2 separate regions of the Homo sapiens genome follow, and region 1 is linked to region 2. Evidence: promoter capture Hi-C in 16 types of primary human blood cells and fetal thymus (Javierre and others, 2016). All regions are on one chromosome and are shown on one strand. Each heading gives the region's core, a stretch centred on a gene start or on the middle of the fragment in contact. The rest is flanking DNA. Distances are from core to core; before and after follow the strand shown. Region 1 overlaps LINC02212 (long intergenic non-protein coding RNA 2212). Region 2 holds the start of ANKRD33B (ankyrin repeat domain 33B).

Evidence for each region. Contacts are between HindIII fragments. The CHiCAGO score rates a contact against its expected background, and 5 or more counts as called.
Region 1: a contact is called between a fragment that was not itself captured here and the fragment with the promoter of ANKRD33B in region 2, in 6 of 17 cell types (neutrophils, total B cells, naive B cells and 3 more). The highest score is 11.5, in neutrophils.

The regions. Positions count from the first base shown.
Region 1 is chr5:10,489,630-10,493,978 of GRCh38, forward strand. It overlaps LINC02212 (long intergenic non-protein coding RNA 2212), which reads right to left. Exons shown (of 3, transcript NR_104606.1): 3 at 3,898-4,349. Among named protein-coding and RNA genes, the nearest start is that of LINC02212, 11 kb to the right of the region's middle. RefSeq lists an enhancer at 451-500. The HindIII fragment of the contact is 3,953 bases long and covers 894-4,349 here.
Region 2 is chr5:10,562,555-10,566,790 of GRCh38, forward strand. ANKRD33B (ankyrin repeat domain 33B) reads left to right here and starts at 1,516. Exons shown (of 4, transcript NM_001164440.2): 1 at 1,516-2,279. The coding sequence starts at 1,914. RefSeq lists silencers at 1,100-1,959, 2,300-2,349, 3,320-3,369 and enhancers at 1,579-2,473, 2,474-3,367, 2,490-2,699, 3,020-3,069, 3,090-3,179 and 1 more. The HindIII fragment of the contact is 7,834 bases long and covers 1-4,236 here.

The DNA of each region.
Region 1 (4,349 bases), core at 1,620-4,119, 72 kb before region 2:
AAATTAGCTGGGCATGGTGGCACATGCCTATAGTCCCAGTTACTTGGGAAACTGAGGTGGGAGGATGGCTTGAGCCTGGGACGTGGAGGCTGCAGTGAGCCATGATCATGCCACTGCACTCCAGGGGGGTGACAGAGCGAGACCACTGTCTCAAAATAAATAAACAAGGAGTGCCACTTATTGTCACATTTGGATTTGTTTCTAACATCGTGCTGAGTTTGGTCACCCACCTCAATCACCTGATGTGACTTGAAACCACTTCTGGCTATTTCCAAAAATCAGCTCCGCACTGGGAGGGGTTAGGGCTGCCCTTTAAGGAAACATTAAAAGCTCAGTATCTTCCTTTGGTGGCTCCTTCAGGGGCGCTAGCTTCTGACTCATCAGCATCATTTTAGCTCTCTGAGGGTTCAGAAATAGAGGAAACAGCACTTCCTTTTGGTGAACGCCTTTGTATTATTTTATTTTTTCACCATGATACTGAAACTAGCTCATCCTGGGAGAGTCAAAGGAAGCTCATATGTTTTCCCTGAGCTGGGCTAAATTCCTGATTCTTCTAATAGGAAAGATCCAAAACTTCCCACGGAGTTTCCCCTCGTCTGCACTGAGTCACATACCTGTGGGCTTCGAGCTAACAGACCTTTTTTAATCAAAGAGAAGATGAAAAAGGCACCTTGCTTCTGTCCCATTTTTAGATCTTTTTTAGCCCCATTTCTTCTCTTTCCTTCCTCCATTTTTGGGTTTGTTTGGTTTCACGCCTGAATTAAATGTTAACAGGAGGAGCAAGTTTTATACATTGCCTGAAGTCATCATTGTCAGAGAAACAAATGCAATCTTTAGTGAGGCTAGCAATGGTGGGAAGAAGACGCGTGGGTTACAGCAAGCACAGTTACTAAAGCTTTTTGCATTGAGTAGCTGTGGGGTCCAGGGCTCCATCTCTCTGGCCCTCACTTGCTCATGAGCAAATAGAGGCTTCAGGTTGTAGCAGGTTGTCTCAAACTAGGGACGTATATTCAACAAACCTGCACCTTATTCAAATGTAGATTCTGATCCTTAGGTTCTGGGTGGGGCCTGAGATCCTGCACCTCTAACAAGCTCCCAGATGACAAGCATCCAAGATCACACTTTTCCTAGCTCTGGATCACACTTTTCCTAGCTCCTAGCAGAATCTCAGGCTCATCCCAGCCTCTTGAGCCAGAATTCAAATTTTCACAAGAGCCCCGATTCGTTCAGATGTGCATTAAAGTGTGAGAAGCCCACACTGGATCACTGAGGGAGGTCGCAGTTGCACCTGGGGAACCAGGAACCGTGGAGGCATGAGCCCATCCTGGAGACCCTGATTTAGTTGGTGGGGAGTGGCCTGGACATCGATTGCTGCCTATTCACAGTGGTTCTTGATTTTGCTGCCATTAACATCACCTGGGGAGCTCTGAAAGGCGTCCCCGTGATGTTAATAGGCAGCAAGATCGGGAACTACTAGGCTGCGGGTTCCTCAGGTTCTAATCTATGATGTCATTGGCTTTATCAGGGCAATTTTTCCTGGCCACATTAGGCAGGAGAGGTGCCTGTGCATCTCAGAAGTGTCTATGGAACTCTGCTTCTGAACTTCCCAGCACGCTCAAAACAGGACCTGGTTTACAGCAAAGGGCCAGCTCCTGGCAACATCATGAAACAAACGTACACTATCCTCTACCCAGGGTTCCCTTCAGCCTATAGGTGCCCGACGGCCCCTGCTCTGTGCTCCATCCTGACATCAGGAAACCCACGAATGGGAGAAAATCTCATGTCACCTGTTTACAGGTGAGTGAACATTTAAGTCAATGGGTTGCTCTCTCCTGGGGAGCTCTAATTGTAGAATTTAAGAGGGCAGAGTGAAGCCAGTGGGAGTCCTGCCAGGTTTGAGTCACAGCTTGGCCACTTATGAGTCCCTCTCATTACCCCACCAGAGCCCGGCGTCCTGATGCATAACACCCACCACCCGGCTTAGGGAGGGCTGACAGAGTGAATTACTGACAGAGGATGGCCCTTGGCCATTTCTGCTTCCTTCACTTTCCCATCACTGCCTTAGAATCTGGAGAGACTCATGCTGGCTTCACCTGGACAGGCATCCTGACACGCAAGCGAGGATTGCTCCCACCAATTTTCTGCGAGAGAAACAGGGGTTCGGTTGATTCCTGGCAACACGTTCGTGTGGGGATGCACGTGGGGGTGCAGAGCTGGACTTGGGAGATGCTTCAGCTGATAGCACACTTTTCCTTTGGGGAGTTTTCTTCCTGCTGTTATAACACCTGTCTCCAAACAAAGCCTTCATTGGTCAACAGTGAATGATTCATTTATTCTGTGCATAGACCTATGGCGTGAGATGCATTTGGAAACCTTGAGAACAGCGGTTCCCAACCTTGGTGCTTGGAGTAATGTCCGAGGACATTTTTGGTTGTCACAACTGGGGCAGGGAACTGTTGCTGGCGTCTAGTGGGTGGGGTCCAGGGGTACTGCTAAACGTCCTGCAGGGCAGAGGCTAGTGCCACCGCAGAGAATGATCCAGTGCAAATGTCGCTGGTGCTGAGAATCCTACTTCAGACCCAGGGCAAGACTGATTGCATGTGTTCATTTATATCTGCTCTTGTAGTCATTCAGTCAAGAAATGAGCACCTTGAATGACTATTAAATCAAGACAGGTTGGGTGTGGTGGCTCACACCTGCAATCCCAGCACTTTGGGAGGCCGAGGCAGGTGGATCACTTGAGGTTAGGAGTTTGAGACCACCCTGGCCAACATGGCGAAACCCTGTCTCTACTAAAAATACAAAAATTAGCAGGGCATGGTGGTGCATGCTTGTGATCCCAGCTAATTGGAAGGCTGGCGCACGATAATCACTTGAACCTGGGAGGAAGAGGTTGCAATGAGCAGAGATTGCACCGCTGTACTCCAGGGTGACAGAGCAAGACTGTCTAAAAAAAATCAAGACAGATCTCTGAGACTCCACAGGTCAATGGAAGATGAACAGAGGGGCGGTGGGGCTGCCCCCCACCCATGTGGGAGGCATGGGCAATGCCTAGGTTGACCAGCTGCCCATGCTCTGAGGCAGTAGTCTCAGGGCAGGGTGTGCACCCTCCCAGGCAGGGCAGCACTCACTTATGGTACAGAAGGAATCTTAGAGCTTCCCTTACTCAGGAATGAAATGAGCTCTAGCCCCTGCCATCACCTTTTGCTCAACACTCACCCACTCCAGGCTTCAAAAGGAGGCTGCCCACATGGACAGCTCAGAGGGACTCCAGGGCACGTGGTTGATGGAGAAGCCAGATGCAGAGTGGTTCACTTGGGGGTGCAGTTCAGGAAGCCACGGGGTGGGTGTGAGGGTGTAGTGGAGCGTATCAGTGCAAGGATACCCTGAGACTGGGGGTGACATTGACTCCACAGGCACGGGAAGGAGCTTGGAAACAGACTGAACTCAGAACATGCATGTCACGAGGGGAGGGGCTGGAGGCTTGGGGTTGGGAGAGGCTGCCTCCACTGCTGAGGGCACAACTTCCTGGTTCAGCCCCGGCAGGCCTGCAGATCCCCCTGCATCCTTTCCCTGAAGATGGGCCATCTGTGCCTAGACAGGTTGGCATGTGTATTAGATTCTTAGGGCTGCCACAGCAAAGAACCACAGACTGGGGGGCTTAAATAACACAAGTGTATTTTCTCACAGTCTAGGAGGCTGGAATTGCAAGGAGCTCAGGGTGTCAGCAGGGCTGGTTTCTCCTGAGGCCCCTCTCCTTGGCTTGCAGGTGGCCGCCTTCCCATGGTGTCCTCACATGGCCTCTCCTCTGATGTGCCTTCCTCTTCTTAGAAGGATACCAGTCCTATTGGATTAGGGTCTGCCCTAAATAACTCATTAGGACATAATTACCTCTTTAAAGATCTTAACTCCAAATATAGTTTTATTCCGGGGTTCTGGGGGTTAGAGCTTCAACATGTTGATTTTGGGGGACACACTTCATCCCATAACAGTGTGGGCTGCCATTCTCCACTGGCCCTCTATCCTGGAGACACACCTCCTAGAGAGTTTCCTACAACATGCAGGACATCTAGTTAAATTTGATTAAATTGTATTTCAAATGCTGCATGGGATACACTTACCCAAAAAATTATCATTGATCTGAAATTTACATTTAACCCAGCATTCTATATTTCTAGCTGCTGAGTCTGGCACCTCTACCCACTGGGAAACCTCCTACTCATGGCTCCTTACCTGGGCTGCCTTGGTCTGGGACGGACACAGAAAGGTGGAGGGTGGAATTGGTGTCTGGAGGAGCAGCTGGTATCTGGGAATCCATCAAGGGCCCTGGCCTCATGGCTCTTTCAGGA
Region 2 (4,236 bases), core at 266-2,765:
CTTTGGAAACAACCCTCAACCTTGAAAGGGGAAATTCCCAGTGGGAATTGATGCAAACTGTGGTCAGTTACACAAAAAGGTAGAGTTTACTGTAATCTGGGGGCTATTTTTGGTTGCAGAAAGAATCCCCGGAGTAGAGAAGGAGGCCAGCGAGTCTCAGTTCGCTGCTCGCTCAGAGCCGCCCAGGTGCGAGGGCGTCTTCACCAGAAATCGGTGCTCCCGCGCGCCCCACCCTCCGGGGCCCTGCAGATGCCGGGTCGGGGGCCGCCAGCAGGCCCTTTGGCTCCTGCTGGAGACACTGGAAGACCAGGCGACCAGGACAGCGGGTCGGGCCAGTGCGGTGTGACACGAGGGCTCGAGCGGCTTCGCAGTTTAAACGTGTCCTCATCCTACACCTCCCACGGCTGTTTCGGATTCGGTGCCCTCGTGCCCCTCAGCTTGCCCAGCGGCACGTGGGCCTCAAGCCTGGTCCCCAGCGGCTGCGCCAGCCTAGCTGTGTTCACCTTGGGGCCGCGAGGGCCTCCCACCGGCTGGCAGCTGGTGGACACGCTGTCAAGATCGGGGGAAAAAAAGGAAGGAAGGAGGCTAGGGGGACACAGGGCTGGTGGCCTCCGCAGTCTTTGACCTGCGACGGGCGCGAGCGCACCTCCGCGCCTTTGCGCAGAGACCTTCCCCCAAGATTGGCTCACGACGCCTCCTACCCCGAAGTCAAGGGCTCCCTGTGGCAAATCCTCACACGCCCTCCTCCTCCCCGCCCATCCCCGGCGCCAGGACTGACGGGGAGAGGGCAAGGCCGGGCCAGAGGGGCTGTGGGCCTGGACTGCGGCTGTCGCCCGCGGCCCTGCTCTTTTGGGCAGCCAGACGTGGGGTCAGCGCCCAGTCGCAGCCTCCGGGGGTGAGTCCGCAGATCCCCGCACGTGACACAGGCCAGGCATGGGGACGGGGAGTTCCTCGTCGTCCGTTCCCACTCAGATGCTCCCTGAGGTTCCGGAACACCCCGCCCCCCATCCCAGGATCTGACCAACCCTCAAGCCACGGCCGGCCCCGGTTCCGCGAGACGGGGGACTCTGAGGATTGTCCTCCCTTCCGGGCTGGGACTCCCCCACAGCAGCCGACCGCCCCCAGTTCAGAGTGGCCCGGCCCGCAGCGCTCCCCGGGCACAGGTCCCAGGTGGACGGCTCCGCTCCCGCGCCCGGCTCCTCTGCCCGCCAAGCGCCCCGGGGATTCCCCGGCCTCCAAGCGGCCGCGGCCGGGTGGAGTCAGCCCCGAAGCCCGGGATCCCCCGAAGGGAGAAAACCCGCTCTGCTCCTCTGAAGCGGCGGGAGAAACCGGCCCCACCCAGGTCCGGGGGCCCGACGCCCTCGGCGGAGGCCGGCTCCAGGGGTCCGAGGTTCCCGAAGCTGGAGGCCGGCTCCGCCCCGGCGTCCCCCCGCCGCCACCTCCGCCCCCATCCCGCGGGCCGGCGGAGGGAGGGGCGGGGCCGCTTGCCGCCCGCGACTCGGGTTCGGCTTCTTTAGTGATTGCTTCTGCTTCTCCCGCGCCAGCTGTCCCCAGCTCTGGGGCAACGCTGCCAGGTGCCCAGTCCCCGCGCTCGAGAGAGCGCCTGCCTGGCTCTGAACTCTGGCCAGGAAGGGGCGCGAGGGGAAGGCCCCGGGGGAAGGCGTGTCCCCGCGCCCCGCCCCGCCCCGCCTCGGAAAGCCCCCGCGGTCCCGCCCACCCCAGGGGCTCGCTCAGCCTCCGGAGACTTTTTTCTTTGAGCGCAGCCGCCTGGTGCCGGTTTCCGCCGAGCTGGAGCGCGCGGGCCACGGCTTCTCTGGGGACGCAGAAGCGAGAAGCGGGGACCTCGGCGCGCGCCCCGCGTCCCGCTCTTCCTGCCCGCGCCCCGGCCCCCGGCCCGCGCCCCGGCCGCCGGCATGGTGCTGCTGGCCGGGACCGGGCCGGAGGGCGGCGGGGCGCGCTGCATGACCCCACCACCGCCGTCCCCACCCCGGGGCGCGCAGGTCGAGGAGGACCCCGCTGACTACGAAGAGTTTGAGGACTTCTCGAGTCTGCCAGACACCCGCAGCATCGCCTCGGACGACTCTTTCTACCCTTTCGAGGACGAGGAGGAGCACGGCGTCGAGAGCGCGGAGAGCGTCCCGGAGGGCGTCCCGGAAAGCGTCCCGGAGACGGCGACCCTCCTGCGCGCCGCCTGCGCCAACAACGTGGGGCTGCTGCGGACGCTGGTGCGGCGCGGGGTGAGCGTCGAGGAGGCGCAGGAGACTGACCGCAACGGCAGGGTAAGCGGGCGTCCCCGCAGGATTTGAGCCCCCTCACTGCCCCCACTCCCCTCCTCCCCACCACATCCCCGCGCCTCCCAGCTCCTGGCTCCGGACCGGTCCCTCGGTCACTCAGCCGCCGCCCAGAGCGCCTTTTCCCCGCTGTTTGGGAGCGCGGTGCCCTGGGTGGCTTCCCCGTCTCAGGCTGGGGGACGCGGTGCGGGGAGGGAGCAGTCGAGGTGTCAGCGCGGCAGAAACGCCAGTCCGGCGTCCTCACCGCATCCCCTTCTCGTTTACCGGTCCCCGTGGACCTCCTGACTGAATTCGCGCTGGCTGCCCGTGCTGCAATCCAGGATGGGCTTCTTGCGGCCCGGTCCCCTCCTGACTATTACCTTTCCCCAGGTCCCTGGCAGGGGACCATTCCTCCTCCCCTGCAGGAGACAGCCCCTCCTGCCCAGCGCCCCATTTGGCCCCTGGGCCCCTCGCGCCGCCCTTGTCCTAACACGCTGGGGCGCAGATCGGCTCCTCCAGCCGCAATGATTTGGAAGCAACAGTTTCTTCCCTCGCCGGGACAGCTTGGTCCCCTACCCCACCTCCGCTGAGCTTTGTGGCCCGCGCCGCGACCAGCCAACGTGATCTCTGACTGGTCTGTCCGCAGGTCACCTTCGCGAGCCAATGCCAGCCGGGGCTCCCCAGAGTCAGGGCATAGGGAGAGCCCCAGAGCCGCGGGCATCCACCCGGGTAGGGCAGGAGGCGTGGAGGCAGGCACAGGCTATCCTTTCGTTATGACCAGATTCAGAGAAAACGAGATGTTTAGAAAAGAAAAGAAAAGAAAGGAAAAGAAAAAAAGTTGGCTTAAGAAGACCTGAGAAGGACTGGCTGGTGGAACACCTTCCACCAAGCAAAGCACTTCAAGGGAAAACTGCAGAGTGACCACGGTGGCCAAGTTCCCCGTAGTCTGTGCTCAGTGGGCAAATGGCAGCGTTCTCACCTGATTTTTGTATTGTCCAAGGACCGTGGTATCTGCAGATGCAGCCTAGCACAAATGCACATGCTTTTTGCTCAGGAGCCTGCAGCTGACAGAAAACATGTGCTTTGACTTGGGGACCCGGGTGACCTTGTGCCTTTGGTTTATCCTGCAGTGGGTGGGGCAAGTGGTTTGCCCTGACTGTGGTTTGGGCTGGGCTTAGGTGGATGGGAAGCCCTCCAATGTCACTCTCCCCTTGTACTACATTGCCCCCGTGATTCAATTACCTCCCACCGTGTCCCTCCCACAACACGTGGGAATTCAAGATGAGATTTGGGTGGGGACACAGCCAAACCATATCACACAACATTTGAACTTGGAGGAAGGGTCTGTGCTTGTCATATGTTAGGCAGTGAGACCTGAGGTGGCGTCCCCGTAGGTAGCATCACCTGGAGCCCTGTAGTTCCTGCTGCCATTCCTCTTGCAATGCCTCCTCCCCCAGCCCTGGCGACAGATGCCCTGGCTGGCATGTGATTAGGGCTTGGAGCTCCACCCGAAGTCCTAGGGCCTGTTTCTCAAGTTCTACATTTGGTTTAACTGAGTTTTCAGGCCCAGATGTGTGTAATCAGAAACCTTGCTTTCTGGAAGCCAGTATGGGGGCCCGCTTTAAAGGAAGCCTCACCAAGCTCATAAAGGAACAGGTGGGGTGGGCCTCTCCCCCTGTCCTGGGCAGCCTGGTGGTCTCCAGTGGGCTGGAATGGGCACAGGAGGGGCCTGGCTCGCCCAGTCCCCACTCTAGGGCACCACTGGGCTCAGCTTTATATAATGTTTCCTTTAGGGGCAAAACATAAATGTTTGAAAACAGCTGCATTGAAGAAAACTGACAGCAACGTAAACCATCCCCAGGGGCTCGAGCCTAACAGACTGAGTCTCCAGGCCACACAGCAGAGAGGCAGGGGAGGGCCGTGGTATGGGAGGCTAGCTCCAGCCTCCCAGCAGCTCTCTGCCTCA